Regions from separate parts of the Homo sapiens genome. Here all the other regions are linked to region 6. Evidence: promoter capture Hi-C in 16 types of primary human blood cells and fetal thymus (Javierre and others, 2016). All regions are on one chromosome and are shown on one strand. Each heading gives the region's core, a stretch centred on a gene start or on the middle of the fragment in contact. The rest is flanking DNA. Distances are from core to core; before and after follow the strand shown.

What was found. Contacts are between HindIII fragments. The CHiCAGO score rates a contact against its expected background, and 5 or more counts as called.
Region 1: a fragment that was not itself captured here is called in contact with the fragment with the promoter of NUDCD3 in region 6 in 5 of 17 cell types (total B cells, naive B cells, neutrophils and 2 more); the score reaches 5.7 in total B cells.
Region 2: a fragment that was not itself captured here is called in contact with the fragment with the promoter of NUDCD3 in region 6 in 1 of 17 cell types (naive B cells); the score reaches 6.7 in naive B cells.
Region 3: a fragment that was not itself captured here is called in contact with the fragment with the promoter of NUDCD3 in region 6 in 1 of 17 cell types (naive CD8 T cells); the score reaches 5.7 in naive CD8 T cells.
Region 4: a fragment that was not itself captured here is called in contact with the fragment with the promoter of NUDCD3 in region 6 in 1 of 17 cell types (total B cells); the score reaches 5.5 in total B cells.
Region 5: a contact is called between a fragment that was not itself captured here and the fragment with the promoter of NUDCD3 in region 6, in 4 of 17 cell types (naive B cells, fetal thymus, total B cells and 1 more). The highest score is 6.9, in naive B cells.

The regions. Positions count from the first base shown.
Region 1 is chr7:43,956,040-43,960,153 of GRCh38, reverse strand. It overlaps UBE2D4 (ubiquitin conjugating enzyme E2 D4), which reads right to left. Exons shown (of 7, transcript NM_015983.4): 7 at 4,018-4,114. It also overlaps the pseudogene POLR2J4. Among named protein-coding and RNA genes, the nearest start is that of UBE2D4, 32 kb to the right of the region's middle. The HindIII fragment of the contact is 6,737 bases long and covers 1-4,114 here.
Region 2 is chr7:45,036,604-45,040,580 of GRCh38, reverse strand. CCM2 (CCM2 scaffold protein) reads right to left here. Exons shown (of 10, transcript NM_031443.4): 2 at 2,155-2,328. Among named protein-coding and RNA genes, the nearest start is that of CCM2, 38 kb to the right of the region's middle. The HindIII fragment of the contact is 2,124 bases long and covers 1,260-3,383 here.
Region 3 is chr7:45,015,880-45,020,401 of GRCh38, reverse strand. All of the region lies in intron 1 of CCM2 (CCM2 scaffold protein), which reads right to left. Among named protein-coding and RNA genes, the nearest start is that of CCM2, 18 kb to the right of the region's middle. The HindIII fragment of the contact is 4,740 bases long and covers 183-4,522 here.
Region 4 is chr7:43,904,810-43,909,196 of GRCh38, reverse strand. URGCP-MRPS24 (URGCP-MRPS24 readthrough) reads left to right here and starts at 2,601. Exons shown (of 7, transcript NM_001204871.2): 1 at 2,601-2,635. The coding sequence starts at 2,622. URGCP (upregulator of cell proliferation) reads left to right here and starts at 2,601. Exons shown (of 6, transcript NM_001077663.3): 1 at 2,601-2,635. The coding sequence starts at 2,622. RefSeq lists silencers at 2,176-2,335, 2,396-2,825. The HindIII fragment of the contact is 3,554 bases long and covers 431-3,984 here.
Region 5 is chr7:45,130,451-45,134,621 of GRCh38, reverse strand. No RefSeq gene overlaps it. Among named protein-coding and RNA genes, the nearest start is that of TBRG4, 21 kb to the right of the region's middle. RefSeq lists an enhancer at 301-801. The HindIII fragment of the contact is 5,554 bases long and covers 1-4,171 here.
Region 6 is chr7:44,488,542-44,492,474 of GRCh38, reverse strand. NUDCD3 (NudC domain containing 3) reads left to right here and starts at 1,817. Exons shown (of 6, transcript NM_015332.4): 1 at 1,817-2,066. The coding sequence starts at 1,875. RefSeq lists a silencer at 2,066-2,235. The HindIII fragment of the contact is 1,642 bases long and covers 1,435-3,076 here.

The sequences.
Region 1 (4,114 bases), core at 904-3,403, 530 kb after region 6:
AGTCCCAGGTGGAAGCCCTAGGAGGTCTGGGAGCACTTTTCAAATTTTAGTCTACCTGAGGAGAAGCTACCCTTACCTGAAACCAGGTTGTGCAGGCCAAAGAAGCAGGTCTCTGTGTTCTGGAATTAGATCAGCTCAGTGAGGTGACCAAGCTCCATGTAGAGAAGACTATAAGGAGGAGTCTCTAGTGGTGAGAAGTTTGAGGGAGCATGATACTGCTTCCTGTTGCAGTGTATGGAAACCTGTTTCAGCTTGATAGGCCAGGGAAAGCCTTAGAGGAGGTAACTAACCCTGGAGCAGAGACTGGGTTCTGAGGTAGGAGCCAGCTTAATTGGTCTGAGAAGTGGGACACAGGGAGAAGGAGAGGCCAAGGGAAGGGCTTTGGGTTTTATTCTATGTGTAATGGAAACCCTGATGGGTTTTAAAGAGGAGAGGATGTGGCCTGCCCTATGTAGACCCCCTCGCCCTTATCCCTCTCATGCTCCCATTTTTCTTGTTTAAGTTTCCTGTTGGCTGTCCTGTAACCACTCAATGGGTTCTTCTTTCCTGTTGCTCAGATACAGCTGATCTATCAAGATCAGAGAAAGAGTATAATACACATAGAGCCAGCTAAATGGGAGACTAGAGTTTTATTATTACTCAAATCAGCCTCCCCGAAAATTTGGAGGCTAAGATTTTTAAAGAATAGTTTGGCAGGCAGGGGGCTAGGGAATGGGTGCTGCTAATTGGTTTGGGGTGCAGTCATAGGGCTGTGGAAAATGGTCTTCATGTGCTGTCTGCTTCTGGGTGGGGCCACAGGAGTCTAACTGGGGCCATCCAGTTATCAGAGATGCAAAAGCCTGAAAAGACATCTCAAAAGGCCAATCTTAGGTTCCACAATAGTGATGTTATTTACAGGAGTTATTGGGGGAAGTTGTAAATCTTGTGACCTTTGGAATAATGGCAGTAATCATTTAACTACAAATTCAGGCCCCTCTCATCCTTCTAACCTGGTGGCCTTTCATTAGTGTTACAGAGGCAGTTTAGGTTTGTGTGTTTTTTTTGTTTTTTGTTTTTTTGAGATGGAGTTTTGCTCTGGTTGCCCAGGCTGGAGTGCAATGGCACAATCTTGGCTCACTGCAGCCTCCGCCTTCTGGGTTCAAGTGATTCTCCTGCCTCAGCCTCCTGAGTAGCTGGGATTACAGGCATGCGCCACCACACCTGGCTAATTTTGTATTTTTAGTAGAGATGGGGTTTCTCTATGTTGATCAGCTGGTCTCGAACTCCTGAACTCGTGATCCGCCTGCCTCGACCTTCCAAAGTGCTGGGATTACAGGCGTGAGCCACCGCGCCCGGCACTAATTTTTTTTTTTTTTTTTTTTTTGAGACAGAGTCTCATTCTGTCACCCAGGCTGGAGTGCAGTGGCACAATTTTGGCTCTGCCCCCCCAGGTTCAAGCGATTCTCCTACCTCAGCCTCCCGAGTAGCTGGGATTACAGGCGCACGCCACCACACCCAGCTAATTTTTGTATCTTTTTCGTTTTTTTGTTTTTTGTTTTTTTTTTGAGCCAGAGTCTTGCTCTGTTGCCCAGGCTGGAGTGCAGCGGTGCAATCTTGGCTCACTGCAACCTCCGCCTCCCAGATTCAAGAGAGTCTCCTGCCTCAGCCTCCCGAGTAGCTAGGACTACAGGCACACACCACCACACCCAGCTAATTTTTTGTATTTTTAGTAGAGATGGGGTTTCAGTGTGTTGCCCAGGCTGGTGTCGAACACCTGAGCTCAGGTGATCCGCCCACCGTGGCCTCCCAAAGTGGTGGGATGACAGGTGTGAGCCACCATGCCTGGCCCGTTAATTTTTGTATTTTTAGTAGAGATGGGGGTGTTGCTATGTTGGCCAGGCTGGTCTTGAACTCATGACCTCAAGTGATCTGCCCTCCTTGGCCTCCTGAAGTGCTGGGATTACAGGTGTGAGCCACCTCACTCAGCCTCTTCTTAATTTCTTCACTGTCCCCTTGATCTTTCAGGATGGTGTTGTTTAATTTTCATGTATTTGTACAGTTTCCAGAGTTCCTTGTGTTACTTACTTCTAGTGCTTTTTGTTTTTTTAATTTAGAAAGAACAGAAATTTGTTTCTCACAGTTCTGGAGGCTGCAACATACTGCTTTTTATTCCATTGTGGTCTAATAAGATACTTGATAGGATTTTGATTCTTAAATATTTGTTGAGATTTATTTTGTGGCCTAACATATGGGCTATCCTGGAGAATGTTCCATGTGCTGATGAGAATATGTATTCTGCAGCTGTTGAATGAAATAGTCTGTAAATGTCTCTTAGATTCATTGGTCTATAGCGTATTTTAAGTCTCATGCCTCTATGTTGATTTTCTAGACCATAATCTGTCCAATGCTGAAAGTAGGTGCTGAAGTCCCCAACTTATTGTACTGGGGTCTATCTCTCTCTTTATCTCTAGTAATATTTATTTTATATATCTGGGTGCTCCAGTGTTGAGTGCATATATATTTACAATTGTTATATCCTCTAGCTGAATTGATCCCTTTATCATTATATAATGACCTTTTCTCTTTTTGTTTTTTGACTGACTTAAAGTCTATTTTGTCTGATATAAGTATAGCTAGTCCTGCATGCTTTTAGTTTACATTTGAGTGGAATATCTTTTTTCATCCCATCACTTAGTCTGTATGCATCTTTTTAGTGAGTTCCTTATAGGCAGCATATAGCTGGATCTTGTTTTTGTTAAATTCATTTTACAAAATTTATTTTAGAGACAAGGTCTTGTTTTGTCACACAGGTTGTAGTGCAGTGGCAATCATAACTCAGCTGCAGCCTTCAACTCCTGAACTCAAACAACCCTCATGTCTTAGCCTCCCGAGTAGCTGGGACTACAGGCACATGCCACGAGGCCCAGCTTTTTTTTTTTTTTTTTAGAGCTAGTGGTCTTGCTCTGTTGCCCAGGCTGGTATTGAACTCAAGCGACATCCTCCTGCCTCAGCTTCCCAAAGCATGGGGATTACAGTTGTGAGTCACCATGCCTCGCCTGGATCTTGTTTTTCTAACCCACTCAGCAAGGGTATTATGTGTGTGTATATATATATTTTTTTAATTGTATTTTTTTGGAGATAGAGTCTCACTCTGTCACCCAAGCTGGAGTGCAGTGGCATGATCTTGGCTCACTGCAACCTCCACCTCCCGGGTTCAAGTGATTCTCCTGCCTCAGCCTCCTGAGTAGCTGAGATTACAGGCATGTGGCACCATGCCCGGCTAAACAAGGCTATATATTTTAATTGGGAAGTTTGAACTCTTTACATTCAAGGTTGTTATTGATGAGTGAGGACTTATTCCTGTCATTTTGTTAATTGGTTTCTGATGTTTTATATGTCCTTTGTTACTTTCTTCCTCTTGAAAAATTTTTTTCCTTTCCTTTTTTTAATAAGAGACAGGGTCTCACTATGTTGCCTTGGCTGGTCTCAAACTCTTGACCTTAGGCAGTTCTCCCACCTCAGCCTTCCAAAGGGCTGGGATTACAGGGATGAGCCACCATGCCTGATCCCTTTCTTATCTTTTGCGATTTGGTGGTTTTCTGTGATGATAATGCTTGATTTGTTTCTCATTCGTGTATCTAGTCTATCAGTGACTTTTATACTTTCACATGGTTTCTGTCTATAATTCCCTTTTCCTCCTACCATATCTTGCATACCGTAAGTGCTAATCAATGCTCTGATGCCACTTAACATAACTGGAAAGTGACTGTGATGATTGGCTAGCAGCAAGTCTTTCTCAGAAGACCAGCCTTTTGAGCCATTGTGGGTGGGCTGGGGGACAGCAGGGTTGAAAGACCGGCTATAAGTGGCAGCTCTGCTGTTGCCCTCCAACGTGGAGCCCAGCTGCGCACCTGCCTTCAAGGGGAGCTCTGATGCAGGCAGCTGGATGCCTGCAAGCACACCTGTCTGGGGCAAGGGAGAAGATAAGAAGGACAGGAAGGAAGTAGATGTATTTTTAAGGAAATCATTGACTTCTGATAGGGTGTTTTGCAGATTTTTTATAGCTTTTGTTTTTGTTTTTTTTTAGAAAGTTTCTCTGTCATCAGGCAAAGACCAGGGTGGGAACAGGAAAACT
Region 2 (3,977 bases), core at 1,072-3,571, 550 kb before region 6:
ATCAGTCAATTATTCAAAATGTTCTTCCTTTACTGTCTTAATAACTTCTTCTCACTCTTCCCTTCATTCTTTTTTCTTGGGAGTCAGATGTTGAACTTCCTGAATTGGTCATCTAATTTCATTTCTCTTTCTCATCTTTTGTTTATTAACCTTCTTTGTTTTTTGAATATTCTTTCTGGGACTTTTTTTTACTTTTTTTTTTGAGACGGAGTCTCGCTCTATTGCCCAGGCTGAAGTGGCACAATCTGGGATCACTGCAAGCTCCACCTCCTGGGTTCACGCCATTCTCCTATGTCAGCCTCCCGAGTAGCTGGGACTACAGGTGCCCGCCACCGCGCCCGGCTAATTTTTTGTATTTTTAGTAGAGACAGGGTTTCACTGTGTTAGCCAGGATGGTCTCAATCTCCTGACCTCGTGATTGGCCTCCCAAAGTGCTGGGATTACAGGCATGAGCCACAGCACCTGGCCTTTTTTTTTACTTTTATCTTTCAACACCTCTATTGAATTTTTTAAAGATATATAAATAACATAGTTGTTTTGTTTTGTTTTCTTTTGACATACAGTCTCACTCTTTCACCCAAGCTGGAGTGCAGTGGTGTGATCTTGGCTCACTGCAACCTCCACCTCCCAGGTTCAAGCAATTCTCCTGCCTCAGCCTCCCAAGTAGCTGGGATTACAGGCGCCTGCCACCACGCCCGGCTAATTTTTGTATTTTTAGTAGAGACGGGGTTTCTCCATGTTGGCCAGGCTGCTCTCGAACTCCTGACCTCAAGTGATCCGCACACCTTGGCCTCCTAAAGTGCTGGGATTACAGGTGTGAGCCACCGCACCTGGCCTAATTAACAGTTTTAATTCCAGAAGCTCTTCCTCTCACCTTTTTATTTAAAAGTAGAATCCTGTTGTCACTGTCAACAATATTTCCTCTTATCTTTCTGAAAATATTATATACTTTTACATTTCTTCCCCTATTTTCTGCATTGTTGCTGTTTATTCATGTTTGTGTATTTGTCTTGAGCTCTGCCTTTAGGTTGAAAGTTGTCCTCAAATGTGTACTTATACTCAGCTGCCTGTGTTTGAAATGAGGCTCCAAAAAGCTGACAGACGTCGGATGCCTGGCGGGAGTCCTGACTGTTGGAGTTTATTCAGGCTGGTTGGTTGGGTAAACCCAAGGGCCAGTAGGGGCTGCTTAACTTCCCCAATGAGCACCCTTCCAAGAATTCCTTTGTGGGAAAGGCCTGGTTGCAGGCATTCTAGAAGCTTGAAAGAAAAAGGAATTGGGAATTCTCTCCATTCCACATACAGGCTTTGACTTGACTTCCTTATCTTCTGTCTTGGTCTCTCCCCACCTGCCCCTGTACCAGGTTTCTGCACGTCCAAAGCCCCATCTTCCAGTGGGTGGGGATGAGTTAATCATCTGGCTGAGCCAGGTGAGAGTGGAAATCCCTCCCATGGACATTCGAACTGCCCCATGCCCCTCCTGAGCCCCCTGGACTCTGGGTCCTCTGCAGGAACTCGGGTCTGGCTGCATTAGCTCTAACTCATCTCACCCTCAGCGGTTTCCTTCTTCCATGTTTACGGACCACCTCATCCACTGTTGTCTCCTTTCCTATTCTCTCTGACCTCATGGCTTTATACCTTTTTATTCATATATTTTCATTTTAGGGGAGGGATTAAAAATCAACTTATGCACGTCACATGGTTTATGCACAGTATTTTGGCCTCAGGCCTTTGAGACCCAATGATGAGCCTCAAACACATGGTCTGAATTCTAGGCGGTGACTGTTAGACCTGCAAGGTCATGGCCTTGACCAGGTAACTCTTTTCAACTGCAAACTACAGGAGATGTGAGTTTTCTCCCAGCTCTTTAACCCTCTTCTGGTGGAGCAGCACATACTACTCACACAGCCAAGTCTTCGAGAGAAAGAAGGTGGCATTGCTACTACAGAAAAAAATAAACTGGGGTCAGCAGACAGAATCTGGGTTTTCAGTTATCCAATTATTAAATTTATCAGCATAGACAAGACAATGGGTGGGATAATCAACTACTAAGGTGTTTGTGTGGCTGTGTCTTATAAACTCAAGAGTGTCTGGTGGATACAAGCATGACCGTCACTGTCGTTTGGCAGGCACGTCCTGTGGCCCATGACGACTTACCTTTACCTCCTTCTCAATATAGTCGCTCAGCAGTCTGTCTGGCTCGACGCGCTCAGGCAATGACAACACCACAGTGTGCAGAGGGCGCCTCTCTGTCACCTTCTCATGGGCTTTCTTATCTCTACTCTTTTCACCTTTTAGGAATACTCGTTTAAATGGCGAGACAATTCCAGGCTGCAGGCAGAAACGGCAATGATTGGAGTTCATTATTTACAAATGCTTTGTGTTGTACCTATGGTTAACAAACAGAAGTAGCCAAAACTACTACCATGGCCCCCATGCAACAGGGATCACTGACTGCCAGACTGGTGAGAAAGGTACCAACAGCACACAAGCCTGAGGGACCACAGCCAGCACGCAGGCCGGCACGGTGGGGCTGGGCTGCCATGCAGCCTCTGGCATGGAGGCACCTTGTTCTTCACCTGTTCCTACAACACATAGAAGCCAGGTAACCTTATCTGGCAAGACAATGATAGAAGGGGGAGATTCCCCACAGAAGATAAAACATAACATCACTCCAACTCTTTCCAGCTCAGCTGGGACACTTCATTTCTGAGAACTCCAGGAAGGCAGGTGGAAGGTGTGGCCAGTGCTAGCATCAACAAGTGGAGCATATGTTTTTTATGCAATTCTTTCCCCAGTGGGGAACACTCCAAGTGGGGACACTGAGTGTGTTGAGCTCCAATGCAGATCAACAAGGGAGAAACCAGGCCAGGCACGGTGGCTCACACCTGTAATCCCAGCACTTTGGGAGGCTGAGGCGGGTACATCACTTAAGGTCAGGAGTTCGAGACCAGCCTGGCCAACATGGTGAAACCCCATCTCTACTAAAAATACAAAAATTAGCCAGGTGTGGTGGCACATGTCTGTAATCCCAGCTGCTCGGGAGGCTAAGGCAGGAGAATTGCTTGAACCCAGGAGGCGGAGATTGCAGTGAGCCGAGATGCCACTGCACTCCAGCCTGGGCAACAGAGCAAGATACTGTCTCAAAAAAAAAAAAAAAAAAAAGTAGGGGGAGAAGCCCTGATCAGCAGCTGGCCAGCCCCTAACTCTGATGACTTCACACCCTATCCAGCATTTCATGAGGGTTCTGAAGGCTAATCCTGCAATCAAAGTCACCTTAAAGAGTGAGAATCAGTGAGAGAGCAAGAGAGGATTACAGCAAGCCTCGCCTGCAGAACCCAGGAAAAGACCTGACACTTCATTCACAATAACTCCGTAAGAAAGCTTTTCATCACCACCTTTGACAATGGCGGCGGGGGGTGGGGGTCTGGGGGGAAGCAATCCCAAATTGTGCTGAGAGATCATGCTACAATCCCTATCTACAGTCACCCAAAGGAACATAAACCCGAGAAAACAAGACACTGATGTGCAGCCGCAGCAAGGAAACATCACGCAGGCCTGCAAAAACCAGAGCCGTGACTAAGAGTGAGAACTTATTCCCCACCATCTCCTCCATAACTCTCAACAGAGGAAACGCAGGAGGAGATGACAACACTCCTTTTGCAGGTGCCTGCCAGGATAGGGTGACCCAGTGCACAGATGGCAGCCGAAACCCCCACAGTAGGCCAAGCTCAGACCCCCCTTATCACCAAACACAGAAACTAACAAAACATATATACAATAAACCACCAAACTTTCATTAAAAGCTCTCATTTCTGTCTCTCTCCAGCATATGGGAAATTCACCCATATGCAAAATCCAATATAAAACGGTGTAGCAGAACCTGTGGTCCTATAAGGACACCTCCTCAAACCCACCAATTTCACAGACAATTGCAGCCAAGGACTACACTATTCAGTAACCACTCCTGAAAAAAGCAG
Region 3 (4,522 bases), core at 1,303-3,802, 530 kb before region 6:
TGAAAGAGCTCCAAAACACACTGTCAAGAAAAAATAAACCCAAAGAAGTTCTTATTCCCTTAAGAGAGAAGTAGACTGTATCAAAATAACTTTCTCACAGACCGAGATTATGAACTCTAGATAAAATGTGAAAAACAATCTTCTAAAGACACTGGAGACAAACAAGAAATAAAAAAGAAGCTTGGAATTTATATGACCCTTGAAAGAAGGGAACATCACTGGGCAAGATCCACTTTTATATTGCTTTACTCCTGAGAGTATGCCCCAGTCTCAGAGGAGTGGAGCAGAGAAAAAAAAGCTGCAATTTTATTGGCCTGACAGGTTAAAGGAGGATTTGAGACTGCTAAAGAAGCTGGAAATTGAGAGGGAAATATAGGAAAGGAGGAACCCACTAAAAAAGGAACCCAAAGTCTGAGTATAAGGTCCCCTCAAATCTTTGGCTGAACCCTGAACTGCGTAAGCGGAGGTGAGACTCCCACAAGCCCAGAAAGGACACGATAGCTTGAAGGTTGAAGGAGCAAGCTGATGGCTGGGTGCGGGAGCTCATGCCTATAATCCCAGCACTTTGGGCGGCCAAGGCAGGAAGATCACTTGAGTTCAGGAGTTTGAAACCAGCCTGGGCAACATAGTGAGACCCCATTTCTACAAAAATAAAAATTAGCCAGATAGTGCATGCCTGTAGTCCTACCTACTTGGGAGGCTAAGGTAGGAGAATTGCTTGAGCCCAGAAGTTTAAGGTCACAGTAAACTATGATCACACCATTGCACTCTAACCTGGGTAACAGAGCAAGATCCGTCTCAAAAAAAAAGCTGAGATTTTAGCTCTCCCTAGCTGCAGGGTAGATAAGAGTTTGGAGTCCAAGTCCTGCCAAGTTAAAGGGGCTTAATCAGTACCTTAAACACTTGAGACTATCCATTTGAAACCCCACAAAGGCCACATCTTAGGAGTAAAACATACATTCCAGGACTAAGAAATTTACCCTAAGAGTAAGGACAAAGATCAAAACTGATCTACCAAACCAAAGTATAAAACCCAGCCAGGTGCGGTGGCTCATTCCTGTAATCCCAGGAGGCGGAAGCAGGAGGATGGCTTGAGGCCAGGAGTTCAAGACCAGCCTGAGCAACATACTGAGATTCCATCTATATTTAAAAAACTTTTTTCATTAGCCGGGCACAGTGGTGCATGCCTGTAGTCCCGGCTACTCAGGAGGCTGAGGCAGGAGAATCACTTGAACCCGGGAGGCGGAGGTTGCAAGGTTGCAGTGAGCCGAGATCACGCCACAGCACTCCAGCCTGGCCAACAGAGTGAGACCCTGTCTCAAAAAAAAAAAAAAAAAAAAAAGGCCAGGCGCAGTGGCTCACGCCTATAATCCCAACACTTTGGGAGGCCGAGGCAGGCAGATCATCTGAGGTCAGGAGTTCGAGACCAGCCTGGTCAACATGGCAAAACCACATTTCTATTAAAAATACAAAAATTAGCCTGGCATGGTGGTGCATGCCTGTAATCCCAGCTACTTGGGAGGCTGATGCAGGAGAATCACTTGAATCTGGGAGGCAGAGGTTGCAGTAAGCTGAGATTGCGCTACTGCACTCCAGCCTGGCGACAGAGTAAGACTCCATCTCAAAAAAAAAAAAAAGAAATTCTTAAAACTGTCAAATAAAAGACATTCAGTACAACAAAAATGACAGGTAACTTCTCAAGAGAAAAAATGGATGCCAGAAGATAATGAGTCTTCATCTTTAAAATGCCAAAAGAAGCTGGGCATGGTGGCTCACGCCTTGGGAGGCTCAGGCAGGCAGATCACTGGAGGTCAGGAGTTGAAGACCAGCCCCATCAACATGGTGAAACCCCATCTCTGCTAAAAATACAAAAAAAAATTAGCTGGGCGTGGTGGTATGTGCCTATAATCACAGCTACCCAGGAGGCTAAGGCAAAAGAATCACTTGAACCCAGGAGGTGGAGGTTGCAGTGAGCAAGATCACGCCACTGCACTCCAGCCTGGGTGACAAAGCGAGACTCTATCTCAAAATAAATAAATAAATAAATAATAAAAAATGCTGAAAGAAAACAGTCAACCTAGAATTCTATATCCTGTAAAACAGAGGTCCCCAGCCCCCAGGCCACAGACTGGTCTGGGTCCGTGGCCTGTTAGGAGCCAGGCCGCACACAGCAGGAGGTGAGTGGAGGGCCAGCAAGCATTACCACCTGAGCCCCGCCTCCTGTGAGATCAGTGGCTGCATTAGATTCTCATAAGAGTACAAACCCTGAACTGTGTGTTGGAGGGATCTAGGTTACGCACTCCTTAGAGAATCTAATGCCTGATGATCTGATATGGAAGTTTCATCCCAAAACCTTTTCCCCACTTTGGTCTATGGAAAAACTGTCTGCCACGAAACCGGTCCCTGGTGTCAAAAAGGTTGGGGACTGCTGCTGTAAAACTATCCTTCAAAAATGAAGATGAAATGAAGGTATTTTCAGATAATAAAAGGTGAAACAATGTGTCAGACCTACACCATGAAAAATTCTAAGCAAGGTCTTCAGGCTAAGAACTAAAAATAAAATCCTAAGCACTCCAACTGACTGAACAAAGCCTGTTTTGGTTCCAGCCATGACAAGATGCCTTGGGACGCACCTCATTATATTCCCTCCCTTTTGTAGTTCAGGCACAACTGACCAGCATTAATGTTAAAATAGAGACCACAAAACTGACAGAATGGACTCTGTGGCAATAAAATACCAAATTACATGCGTTCATGAAGATCATGGGGAAAAAAAGACACCAAATTATAAACAAGACCTACGACCGTGCCAGGTAAGGATTCAGCCACACAGTCTGACTCTTCAAGATCAACTCTGTTCTAACTGCCACAGGGTTCTTCTTTTTCTCTAGCAGCCAAACAAGCACTGTCCTGGATAAGCAATAGGAAAACAACTGCAACTCACCACCAGATGCCAACTGACCTCCTGTTCCACAAGCCAAAACTATAGCTGTGACTGTATAAGAGACTGACTTCAGTAACTCTCTCCTGACAAGAAGACCACCAGCCACAGACTGGTTCTAGCCAGTTTATAGAGGCTGTGCACTTGAGTGCCCTGTCTCCTTGCTTCACCTTTTGAGGTATGGGGCCTGAATATAATGTTGTCTCCACCTCAAAGTGAACATGGAATGCAAAGAACATGCCTGTCTGGAAAAAATAACTGTCAGATACTACGCTTAGTACCTGGGTGATGAAATAATCTATACACCAAATCCCCATGACAGATGTTTACCTATATAACAAACCTGCACATGTACCCCTGAACCTAAAAGTTCTTTTAAAAATGAATGTTTGGGCCAGATGCAGTGGCTCACGCCTGTAATCTCAGCACTTTGGGAGGCCGAGGCAGGTGGATCACGAGGTCAGGAGATCGAGACCATCCTGGCTAACATGGTGAAACCCTGTCGCTCCTAAAAATACAAAAAAAATTAGCCAAGCGAGGTGGCTCACGCCTGTAATCCTAGCACTTTGGAAGGCCGAGACAGTCAGATCACTTGAGGCCAGGAGTTAGAGATCAGCCTGGTCAACATGGTGAAACCCTGTCTCTACCAAAAATACAAAAATTAGCCAGGCGTGGTGGTAGGCGCCTGTAATCCCAGCTACTTGGGAGGCTGAGGCAGGAGAATCGCTTGAACCTGGGAGGCGGAGGTTGCAGTGAGCCAGGATCGCGCCACTGCACTCCAGCCTGGGCAACAGAGCAAGACTCCATCTCAAAAAAAAAAGATGCATGTTTGGGCCAGGCACAGTGGCTCATGCCTGTAATCCAGCACTTTGGGAGGCTGAGGCGGGTGGATCACCTGAGGTCAGGAGTTCAAGACCAGCCTGACCAATATAATGAAACCCCGTCTCTACTAAAAATACAAAAATTAGCCAGGCCTGGTGGCATGCGCCAGTAATCCCAGCTACTCAGGAGGCTGAGACAGGAGAATCGCTTGAACCCGGGAGGCAGAGGTTGCAGTGAGCCAAGATCGCGCCATTGCACTCCAGCCTGGGCAACAAGAGTGAAACTGTCTCAAAAAAAATAAATAAAATAAAATAAATTGCATGTCTGTTCAGTACACATGCATCAGGACCCCCTCCATGAATATTCATAACTCCTCCTATAACCTGTTGAATATGTATATACTTGGTCAGCACAAACCCATTCAGCACAAATTCCTGTTCCAACCCCTCCTCCTCTGAAGTGCCTACCTTTCAGGCTCTGCCAAAGGCTACGCTTCCCAGCCTGTGGGATGGCCAGCCTACAGGTTGCAACTCTTTGTAAGAAATAAAGTATCCTTTCCAAATATGTACATTTCTTGAATTTTTAAGTTGACAAGGCCAAAGGTAAATTATTCCAGATGGAAATTTTCCAGAGGAAATAAAAGTGCTAAAAATGATAAAAGGAGGGATAAACAGAAAAGATAAATTTTCTTTCTTTTCTTCGGTCTTTTAAAAATGTCAAATCATGGCTTTCGGATGGGGAGGTGGGGGCAGCATCAGT
Region 4 (4,387 bases), core at 958-3,457, 580 kb after region 6:
TAGGTATACACATACACATACACAGAGTATATATGTTTCAGAAGAGCCTTAAAATACTGATATCCTATTGATCTAGAAATTCAACTCTTCAAAATTTGGCATAAGGAAATAATCATTGATGTTTATGGGATGTTTTGGCTATAAGGATATTTATTACTCACATTCCTTATAATAATGAAATACTGGTAGCAATATTTATGTCCAACAGTAGGGGTTGGTTAAACATGATGGTCTAACCATATAGTGGGATGCTAAAATTCATGTTAAGTGTACGGGCCACGGGAAAGTTTCTCCTTGCCCTCTGAAGATTTACTGAAAAATCAACTCACAAAAAGCAGATTAATTGAAGAAAAGGCATACAAATTTTATGAATGTGTGCACAGGGAGAATTACAGAATGATTTCCCACCACCCAACAAGGTTCAGAAGCTTGTAGACCATCTTGGCAAAACAACTTACAGGAGGGGAGAAAGAGGAATTCTTTCAAGGGGCAATAAAGGATTACTAGGGAGAAGGAATGGATCAGGGCACAGAGATTAACTTGTACGCTATCCTATGAAAGGGTCTTTTCAGGTGTGGTTACATTCTTGGTCTTACAGGGAGGGCAAGAAAAACAGTTGTTCTCCTTGGAGGGTCTGGACTTTAAGCAGATAAAGACATTTTCTGTTTTGGGAGAAACCAGTGGGGAGGGAGATCAGAGAGACCTTGAGACTTCTTCAGTTCAGCTTGTTAAAGTGCCATATTTTGGGGTTATTGGTTTCTGAACCAGATTTTATGTCAGTAAACATGTATTCCTTATGTTTAAAAGAATGCTTATTTAGGCCAGGCATGGTGGCTCACGCCTGTAACCCCAGCACTTTGGGAGGCTGAGGCAGGCAGATCACCTGAGGTTGGGAGTTTGAGACCAGCCTGACCAACATGGGGAAACCCTGTCTCTACTAAAAATAGAAGAATTAGCCAGGTGTGGTAGTGGGCGCCTGTAGTCCCAGCTACTGGGAGGCTGAGGCAGAATTGCTTGAACCCGGGAAGTGGAGGTTGCAGTGAGCCAAGATCTCGCCATTGCACTCTGGCCTGGGTGACAGGGCAAGACCCTGTCTCAAACAAACAAAGAAAAAATTCTTTTAGTTTGATCTCCTTCATTTCATTACTCCCTTGAATCAGGCATTTAGGATTTAGGATTTCCCATTCCTCAAACTCTTCCTAACTCTGGTCCTCCTGGATTTGTCCTTATTTTGGGTGTCACAAGTTCGCGTGGCTTTACCTATCAGCTCCCATTTACAGAGCATTAATTATCTTCTGAACTCAAGGTAGCAGTTATGAATTTCTTTACCGAAGAGGACAAGGAGGCTCAGAAACATTGACTGGATTCTCCCAGGAGGAAAAGAGACCATGCATCACGCAATGTTTACTAACATTTAAAAATAGTTACAAATGTTTACAAATATTAATTCATTTAATCTTCACAGAGAGGAAGGGACTTATTTTTAGCCTTATTTTTCAAATAAGGAACTGTGGCCCTGGAAAGGTTCTATCTTGCAGGGGCTCCTGGGGCTGGTAATTGGTGGAGCCCAGATTCCAACACAGGTATTCTGGCTTCAGAGCTAAGGTTTTAATCACTGCTTTGCTGTCTTGTATTCTTAATAGTAGTAAACATTTTTAAATAGTGGTTGTTAATGATATTTTACTTTTAACTTTAATTTTATTTTTAAAAATGAAACGGGCGGGGCGGGCAGGGGGTCATCTCAATATGTTGCCCAGGCTGATCTCAAACTCCTGGGCTCAATCGATCCTCCTGCCTCGGCCTCCCAAAGTGGTGGGATTACAGACGTGAGCCACTGCGTTCGGCCAGTGATATTTAATATAATACTAAAAATGTTATCAACAATGGTTTACATTGTCCAGAGCTTTTTATTAAGCATTTTCACTTAGATCATTTTTGGAAACTCATTTTGCAGAGAGAAGAACTGAAGCTGAAAAATCTACCTGCCTAAGGACTCATAACTTGTAAGAATAGTTGTGAAACCTCACTGGAGGAACTGCAGATTCATTATTTTTCTTAATAACACACTATAAAGAATAATAAAAGTGCTTCGCATTGCCTAGAGCTTCACAAGGCCACTTTATACACATTTTACAATGGGTACCGTCTCAGAGAGGCCAGCAACTCGTCCAACACAGCACTGCAAGTAAGAAGTAGGAAAGTTATTGTTTTGCTTAATAATAAGGCCTTACGCTTCAGGGCTAAAGAAAAGCCTTTTCTTACAGAAATTAAACTCCAATTACAGAAAGGTGTGAAGTTCAGTAAGGCCCTGGGGCAGGTTATCCTACAGCTTTTGGCACCGCAGGCACCGCCCGGCGAGTTCCGGCCTCCAGGCACCTGGGCAGGTGGGCGTTGGGCGGGCTGCGGGCTGACCTGGGCCGCCCCGCCCCCACCCCGCCCCAGCTGTCCCCGGGCTGCTCCGAGAGGACCCCGGGCCCACCTTACCCCACCTCACCCCACCTCCACCCCTGGAGCGCGTCCCGGAGCGGGCGGGCGGCCGGCGGGCCAGGCCCCTCCCCGGCGCCGAGCCGCGGCCGCGCGGAGGAAGCGAAGGAGGCGGGAGCGGAGACCTCGCTGCGCTCATGGCGTCGCCCGGGTGAGTGCCGCCTCGCAGGCCCTGCGCCCCCGCGGCTGCCGGCAGGAACGGGAGCGGGACCCGGAGCGGCTCTGGCCTGCGGGCTCTGGTCTGGGATGCGGCCCGGACCCGGCCAGGGGCGCCCCCGCCCGCCAGGCCCACCAGGCCCACGGCCCGCTCGCGCCGACCTTGGGCGGACCGGCCGCGCGGGCGTGGGGGGCGGGCGGGGGCGCCGGCGGAGGACAGCGGTCCCCCGGGATGCGGGGGTCCGGGTACGCGGGCCTAGGGGATCCGGGGAGGGCGCGAGGCCCGGAGGTGCCCGGGGCGCGGCGGGAGCGAGGGCCCGGCGAGCGGCTGGGGAACCGGGGTGCGGGTCCTCGCCGCGGCCCGGGGCAACCCGCGGAGGCCTGGAAATGCTTCGCTCCGGCGCCTGGTATCGATGTTCCTGGGTTTTAAACTTGCTCGCGTTGGGAGTGGACGCTTGTTTGCCGCGTCGTTGAGACGTACCCAGAATGTCAGGATCCGGGCAGATGCAGACCCTTTGCTGACAGCCGGAGAGCCGCTCCGGGATCTCCTTGGTCGGGGCCATTGCCTACCGGCCTGCCTTGGGGTGGCTGCGCTTATTTTGATATTACCTCTTTTCAACTTTTTTGATTTAAATGTTATTCCTTTTAGGAAATGATGGCGACACATATAGTTTGTAATTTTTGAGAAAAAATTCTCACTTGGCAAACTAAAACCTCAGTAATTCATTATTTTTTTGTTTTTTGTTTTGATAATTTTACTAGTACTGAAATTTGGGAATGACAGTCCAACACTTTCATTTTACAAAGAAAGAAATTAGGCTCAAGGTCATCGCTTTAGTTGTTAAAATTCTTCTTTGACTGTTACCCATCATTCAGAGGGTCTTGGATCTAGTGGCTGTGATAGCCATTCAGAACAGTTCCCAAAGAGCTTTACAGGTGTGTGTTCAGTGGTAGGGGTGGGGAGGGGACGGTGCTAAGGGGCCGGGATCATGGATTTCGTGCCTCCTCCAGATGAGGCCTGAGCCATGCCCTGGGGTGATTTGGCTCAGTACAGTGGGCCTGAATGAAGCAAGCTGAATTTGAACCCCGCCTGCTGTCTTTCTAGGCTTTGGGGCAGTGGTCATTTCCGGGACCAGGCCTTTTCATTGCCAGCTGACTACCCAGCACTTTGAGCTCATGAATAGAGTAAGCAGGGAACCATCCCTGGGAAGGCCAGGCTGATTGACCTAGGGGTTCAAGGTCCTGCAGCATTCCTTTCCCCCTTGTCAGGAAAGGGTGGGCAGAGCCTCCTGGAGGCAATGTTGAGGGTGGCTGAACCTGTGTGGGGCTGCCCTGAACGAAGCTTTAAAAAAAAAAAAAATAGTGGTGCATTTGGTGCCCAAGTACACTACTTTGTAGACATGGGTCAGAGGTGGACTTAATGCTTCACTGGTGTTTCTGTGAGCCAGTAGGGCTTAAACTGTGTCCCTGTAGTTGGTGACATTTGGTATTTGCGGTTGTGATTATTTGTGTGACCCCCATGAGTCTGCAGTTTGTAATCTATAATTTTCTGCGGGATATCCATTGCAAAAGCTGAGGTCTCAAAACCTTTAGTATACAAGTCATGCACCACAAAATGACAGCGGAGGACCACGTTATATGACAGTGGTCCCATGCACAAATACTTATCATTGTGTTAGTTGCCTACAGTATTCATACTGTAACATGCTGTACAGGTTTGTAGCCTAAGAGCAACAGGCTGTACCAT
Region 5 (4,171 bases), core at 789-3,288, 640 kb before region 6:
GTAGAGGCCAGGCCTGCTGCCCTCCCTTCTACAACCCCACCCCTGCTGGACTTTCCCTTCTCAGCCCAGGAGACCCAGGCCCCGGTCCCACATACCTTCCTCCCAGGCCCAGTGCCTACCTTTGTCCAGGCTCCCCTTCTCCTCTCCTCCCACCTCCCTGTCAACTGGCAAAGGGCCTTTCTAAAACGTGTCTGATCCTGCCTTGCCACCCTGACCCCTGGCCTGGCCCCCATGGCTCTCCATGGTCCAGCCCTGCCAGCCTCCCCAGCCCTCTCCCACCTCAGTGTTGGAGAAAATGACTCCCCAAAAAGACCCTGTTTCTCTGCACCTGCCAGGCTGCATGATATCTCAGCCTAGGACCATCCATGCTCCTTGCGTCCTTGTGTAGCGCTGGACTCTTCTGAAAGCTCGGGGGCGACTCCCTGTCAGAAGCCTCGCAGCTGGGGAGGAGCCTCTGTGGGTATGCACCTGGGGTCTGCATTTCATGTGCCTGTGCCCCTGGCCACACACAAGTGTTAGCAAATGGACCACAAGTGAACAAGCTGGACAGAGATGACACCATGAGGCCTTAGCCACCAGGGCTGCGCCCAGCATCCTCTGCAGCCCTGCTCTACCTGCTGTGGTCCAGGGCAGAAACAGAGCCAGTGGGACATCCAACCCACCTGCCAATGACCACAGGCCCATGAGGCCCACGGTTCTGCTAGGTACAAGAGAAGGGGCAGAGGGCCCACTGCAGCCTCACAGCCTTGCAGCCCTGGAGTAGGAGGTGGCAGTAGAGCTTTGAAAGATGGGAGGAGAGAACTTTCTAAGCAGGAGCTAGAGGCAGGAGGTGTAGCAACTGTATGCAGGGACATGACTTGGTGAGACAGGAGATGTAGGAAGGGTGTCAGAGCAGACAGACCATGATGAGGGCAGAGGGCTGAGGGCAGGACCTGCACCCAGGGTCGGGACCCCTATAATGAGAGTGAGACCTTCACCGAAGGGTCATGACCCCAATGACAAGGACAGGACATTCACCCAGGAGTCCTGACTCTGATGACAAGGGCTGAGGACCTGCACCAGGGTTGTGACCCTGATGACAAGCATGAGACCTTCACGTGATCAGAGGCCGTGACCCTGATTGCAAGGGCTGAAGGCAGGTCATGTACCCAGGGCCTGTGGCAGTCACCACAAGACCAGGACACACCTGTGGAATAGCATGGCCTCCTCCATCCCTGTCTTTACTCAGAGTTTTGGAGAAAATCCTGACCCAGCTGACCCCATAGGACCAGGAGTGGGGACAGTGTGCTCCAGATGACCACAACCCGGGGCCTCATTTCCCCATCAATCCTGGGCACACAGGAGCTGCTGGGGAGTGAAAGAGCCTGTGCATCTTAGAAGATGATAGGCTGGAGCCAGGCAAGCCAGGGGCCAACAACCTTCCCCTGGGCGCAAGAAGAACCCTACATTCCTTGCCTCTGGGGCTGGTGAGCCTGGAGGAATGGCATTCCTGGAACCCTCTGGCTTCTCCATTTGGCCCTGAGGGCTCTAAGGGCAGCTGTGCACCTAACCCGAACTCCTTGTCCTGCCAACACCTCTCACTCCTCCCCACTGCCCCCCACCAGCCACACAGAACATGTGTTCCCTCCTGGCCCCCCGGGCCCCAGCTCCCTCTGGTAGTTGGAATAGGTCTCATTATTACCCCATTTTACAAATGAGGAAGGAGTAAGCTGCTCAAGGTCACACAACTAGCACAGCCAAGACTAGATTCACACAGGCATGCACTCAAACGCTTCCTCTAGGCCACTTCATTCAAGGTCATGAAGGGCATGAATGCCACACCCCAGCATTTGGACTTCTCCCCCCAGGTAATGGGAAACCGCCGAAGAGTTTCAGATGGGGTTGTGATAGGATCATGCCCAGGCGTGAAAGGCCATGCTGGACAGAGCATTGACAACTAACTGGAAAGTGGGGAGGCCTGATATAGTCTTCCCTCCCTCCATCCCTGCCTCCTTCCCTCCCTCTCCCACCTCCTCCCTCCCTCCTCCCCTCTCTCCTTCCCTCCCTCCCTCCCTCTCCTCCTTCCTCCCTCCCTTCCTCCTTTTTTCCCTCCCTTCCTTCCCATTAAAGGCTAATGCCCCAGATGCTGCAAATGTGCTGTTCAACAAGATGAGAGAGGTCCTGTGCTCTGGAGGACAGTATACAGGACATCTCATGAACAAATCAGATCGTCTGTAGTCAGACAAGTGTGTTAAGGCGGTTGTTGCAGTGGCCGATGCCACAACAGCCCATCCCAGGGCAGCAGCCCAGAAGAGCTGACAGGAACACACTCAAGAGGGTTTTGGAGGGGCATCCACCAGTGGCCCAACCTCTTGGTAACTGATTAGATGGAGAAACACAAAAGGGAGGCCCTCCAAGTCTCTGGCTGTGAGGAACCATTCCCAGGGAAAGGAGATGTGGGAGGAGGCCAAGTTCTGCATTGGCAACAGTGGGCAGATGTGGGTCCAAGGCCTCTGAAGGCTGAACAGATGGGCGTGCTCCGGACCAGGCAGGGCCCTGGTTGTGCCTGGGAGCTGCTGCCAGGGATGCAGGGGTGGGGGCTAGGGCAGGGGCTCAGGGAGCGTGGGCGGATGCTTCCCACAGGATGAGGGGAGGGGAGAGCAGAGAAAGGGGATAGTGGCAGTGCCATAGACATTCCCTGAGGAGTGAGGACTATAGAGGGACAAGAAACAGGAGGGAGGCTGGGGGAGCTGGGGTGCAGGGGCAGTTTGAAGGAGGACTGCAGAGGCTGGACACCACTGAGAAGGAAAGACCCAGCCAACCTGAGCTCATGGAACTAGCAGTTACTTTACGCGTAGAATAATTTTATCTGTAGGAAAACAGCCCTGGGATTTCCAACTTCATATGAAAGTAGTAGGGGATTGGCCAGGCGTGGTGGCTCATGCCTGTAATCCCAGCACTTTGGGAGGCTGAGGCGAGTGGACCACCTGAGGTCAGGAGTTCAAGACCAGCCTGGCCAACATGGCAAAACCCCGTCTGTACTAAAAAATACAAAAATTAGCCGGGTGTGGTGGTGGGAGCCTGTAATCCCAGCTACTCGGGAGTCTGAGGCAGGGAGAATTGCTTGAACCCAGGAGGCAGAGGTTGCAGTGATCTGAGATTGCACCACTGCACTCCAAACCGGGTGACAGTGAGACTCTGTCTCAAAAAAAAAAGAAAGTAGTTGGGGTTGAAACAACACGATGTTTCAGATTTAAATTCCAACAACAACACAAACAATAGTAACATGAGTCCGACAAAATGTTGACAAGGTTAATCTAGACCATCGGTCTGTGAGTACCTATTGAACTATTATTTTTACTTTGCTGTATGTTTAAAATTATCATAATAAAAAGTAAAAATAAAAGCCTCCACCATCACCCATCGACCTATCTACCCAGTGGGCAGGATGAGCGTGTCTGCTCATGAGGTGTCGGGGACCAGCCCTGCATACCCAGGTGTGCCAGCAGGGACTGGGAATCGGGCCAGATGCTTGGAGGACACTTGGGCGGGGCCTCCCATGTGGGCGAAACATGGACCCTTTGGCCCAGCATCTCCGCCTCTACACTGGTACCCTGCAGAGCTCCCTGCCCACATGCCGAAAGCTGGGGTCTTCTGTGGTAGCAAAGAATCAGAAACAACCTAAATGTCCATCAATAGGAGACTAGCAATTATGTGGACACATCCATACCGAGGGGACTAAGCCGCCACTCAGAAGCAGGCGTGTGTCATTAAAACCCAGCCAAACTGAGCTCACAGAACTAGCTCAGTTTGGCTGAGCTAAATGGATGTTCCCCAAATGGAAAAAAAAAAAAAAAAAGGAGGGGGAGACAGTGTGCACATAAGTCGCATTTCTAAGGAGAACGGACCTGCACATCCATACTTGAACAGGCTTGATCATCTCTGAAGAGAGTAGGAAATCAGCCTCCAAAAATGAGAACGGGGGTCAGGGCCAAGTGGGAACGCCACTGCCCCCTGCCCTGCACCGTGTGTGTTGTCATCCTTGCATGCCTGTGGCTTTTCTTCCAGAAATAGTAGTAATGAAGGGAATAAAGGAGCGCAGAAAGGGGAATGGAACTGGGCCTGACATGACTGGGGGTGCTAGTGGTGTTGGAAGCAGCCTCGAACTGGCCGCCTGGCCCAGGCAGGAGAA
Region 6 (3,933 bases), core at 568-3,067:
AGAGGGAGACCCTGCCTCTTAAAAATAAAAAAAATAGAAACTATCGCTTGTAGAAGAATTTTGATGTCATTTTAAAGACAAATAGCCACATTTATTTGAAAAGACAAAATATTCCTCTCATTTGCAACTGTCTGTGTGAGGTTGCATGTTTTCATATACTTCAATGAAAACAACATAATGCAAATTATGTTGCAGTGAATGCAGATGTGAGAATCTTGTGGTCTTCTTTTTTTTTGTGGAGACGGAGTCTAGCTCTGTCGCCCAGGCTGGAATGCAGTGGTGTGATCTCGGCTCACTGCAACCTCTGCCTCCCGGGTTCAAGCGATTCTCCTGCCTCAGCCTCCAGAGGAGCTGGGATTACAGGCACCTGCCATCACGCCTAGCTAATTTTCGTATTTTTAGTAGAGACAGGGTTTCACTGTGTTGGCCAGGCTGGTCTCGAACTCCTGATCCTCCCGCCTCGGCCTCCCAAAGTGCTGGGATTACAAGCATGAGCTACTGTGCCGGCCAAATCTTGCTGTCTTCTAGTAGGCTCATTAAAGAGATTTGCAAAAATGTAAAACTATGTTACTCCTCTCACTGAACTTTTATTGCTTTGAAGAACATTATTTTTTGCATAAAAGTATGTTAACATGTAATGTGTTTTATGGTCATTTAAAAATGATTAAATAAATATTTAAACATTTTATGTTTTAATTTCTAATGTGGTAAATATTGATAAGCATAACCCATATCAACAAATGTTCTTTGGAATGTTCAACAAATTTTAAGAGGATTAATGGTCCCTAAATCAAGAGTTTCAGAACCACTGTTCTAGGGCAATTTACCTGAGTTGGATTTTATTTACAATTCATTAAAGCTTATACACTATGAAGACATGTTAACTTGCATGTTTTAATCTAGAAGAGGTGCAAATCATTTCTATACACTAGAAATGATAATCTATGGTTTTATCATCTTGTAGAACACCAGCCAGCTTTGTATCCAACCTAATCTTACTCTAATGCTTTGTCAAAATGTTTAATCTCCACTTCCTCAAAATGCTTTTGAACCAGCTTTACCATATCATTGTTAATTTGCTGAAGAAATCTTGGATATGTGTTCATGATATATTTGTATGAGTGTCATGCTTTTTACTTTTTTAAGATTATACTTTGACAGACACTAACAACATATGTATATATGACGTATATATGTATATACATACTATACACACACATACACGTACATATTTCACAACGATGGCATACGGATTCTCTATTCTGAATCTAGCTCTTTCCACTTAATATACGTTGAATGCACTCTTTATTTTCTTCGTCATCTTGACTTTCTTCTGATGCAACGCCCTGAGTTTAACTCACAGATCTGTTAATAAGAAACCCATACATCCCACATATACGCATTTTCCCGTCTCTGGCTCACTAACAAAAAGCTTACCCTAGCCCCATCTTTAACCATAGGTTCCAAATACCCAGGCTGGAATTCAACACAGAAATAAGAAAGGATCCACAGACAACGTGACAAAAATCCGAGCAGTCACGTGACACTGCACGCCCCATAATTTTTTTCCGCCCGCTTCAAACATGGCGGTCAAGCCCTCGCAGCGCAGCAGAAGCCACGGGCTTCCTTCCGCGTAGGAACCTCCTTGCTGCCCTTGTCGGGCTCTTTTGTCTAAGACCACCTCAAGGCAAAGCCCGTGGGGCAGCTGGGTCTGGGGAAAACAGCCCGGGGCCGCGGGGGCCGAACGAGCACGGACCGGAAGTTCCGCAGCCGCGCCGTCCGGCGGAGCCGTTGGCTGCGGACGCCGGAAGTGGCCAGTCGGCAGGTCTGAGGCGGCGCTGTGTGTGTGAAGCGTACCTAGGGCGGGAGGCGACATGGAGACAGGGGCGGCCGAGCTGTATGACCAGGCCCTTTTGGGCATCCTGCAGCACGTGGGCAACGTCCAGGATTTCCTGCGCGTTCTCTTTGGCTTCCTCTACCGCAAGACAGACTTCTATCGCTTGCTGCGCCACCCATCGGACCGCATGGGCTTCCCGCCCGGGGCCGCGCAGGCCTTGGTGCTGCAGGTGAGGCGGGCGGGCCTGCGGTCTGGGGAGCCGCCGCCCCCGGCCTGCCCTGACTCCTGGCGCCCGCTCCTCCAAGCTCTCCCAGCCTGTTTCCTCCTTTTCCTGGTGTCCTGGGGTTGAGCTTGTGAGAATGGCTTCAGTAATTTGAAGCGCGGATTGGATGTCAGCTTATTCCGCTGAGGTGTTCGCTCCGGACGTCCTGAGGTTTCAGAAGTAGTAAGCCGACTGTTAAGAGCCCTACTCAGCACCCGCCAGCGCGTACCCCTCACGGTGCTGGGGGCCGCTAGTCAGGGAGCGAAATCCATGCAGGCCAGACAGAAGGAAGGACATTTACAGCAACAGAAACGTGCATGCCCCAGAACTACCAAAGACTTGAGCTGGCGGGGATGACGGAGGCATTGTGTTGATCAATGGGTGTGGTCGCTTGTTTGAAATGTGACTTCCCAGGTCAAAGACTGTCAATGTAGTGCTTATTAAAATTTCTATTTGAGCTTAATTCCGTACCCTCCAGGTTAAGTTTATTGTATGTTGGAAACGCTGTCAATACTCATTCAGTGAAGTTGACTGGGCACTTTTGAATGTAGTGGTAAGCAACCTTTTGCTGAATGTAGTTTACACTCTTAGTTGCCGCAGGTGAGGGTGATACGGGTGTTTAAGTAATGGTTTCTCTCTCCTTGTGACACAGTTAAAGAGAGAAAACCCAGAAAGTAATAGAAAACTTTTTAAGGGCAATTATTTGATGGAGCCCATTGTAAAGAAAGGAAATAGAAATGATGGTTGAGAAGTGAAGTTTTTATAAGAGAGGTGGGACTTCTGATGAGATTAAAAGAAACTATTCAGCCAAGTATTAAGCCTATTTGTAGAAACCCAAGAAGATAGAAATGCTGATGATACCTCCCTCAGTTCTCTAGATGTTACAGTTTATAAAATGCTTCAGATGTTTCCTCCTGAAGTCTTAATGCATGCTGCAGGTTGGTAAGATGTTACTTTCCTCAGCAGAAGCCAAAGCTTTGAATGTCTTGGTAGCTACCAGGGTAATAGGGCCAAACGAGGAATGGGGTTCCATTAGGATTCAATTTCAGAACTTAAGGCTATTCCTCGTCCTTGTCAGTGGCATAAGTGCCATCTTAGTGATGAGAGAGCTGTTGGAGGTGGCCTTTAGCAGGATCTTATGGCAGGTTAATGAAGTCTTGCCATTTGATCTTCAGTGTCTCTGTGAAACAGATAAGTTTCAAGTTTACGTACCAATTCAGCAAGGTTAAGTGATTTGACCAAGAACACACAGCCAGTTCACCGTAGAGCTGAAACTAAAAATTTCATTTTGTGGATTCCAAATCTTCCTGTTCTGTTGTTTAACCATTCCATAGTAGGATGAGAACACTTTTGTCTAGATTGATTGTAGTTTGCAGAAAGATGTGGAGGAGAAAGGAGTATATACTGAGTAATATGTATAGTATCAGATGTTTTATATTCTGGGGTCGTTATCTTATTTAACCCTTAATATAACCTGAGAGGTTGGTCTTTGTTTCACAGATGAACTGACAGAGCACTCATTAACCTGGTAACTCATTTACCTGGTAACACCTCTTACAAGACACTTCCATAGGTTAGGATTTGGTGACCAGTCTAATGAAGTAGTGGAGATGGGGAGCAGGGATGGAGGAAGGGGAGGGATGGGTCAAAGATGATCCAAGGTTTCAACTTGGGTGACTGGAATAGTGATAATGCGTTAACTGAACTGTCACCTGGGTTTAGGGGAAAAAGTTCAGTTTTAGACAGGTTGAACTTGAAGTTGCAGGTAGGAGTCCCTGCCCATAGGCTATTGGAATTACTGGACTAGATCTTTTGGGAGCTAGAGCAACTGGAG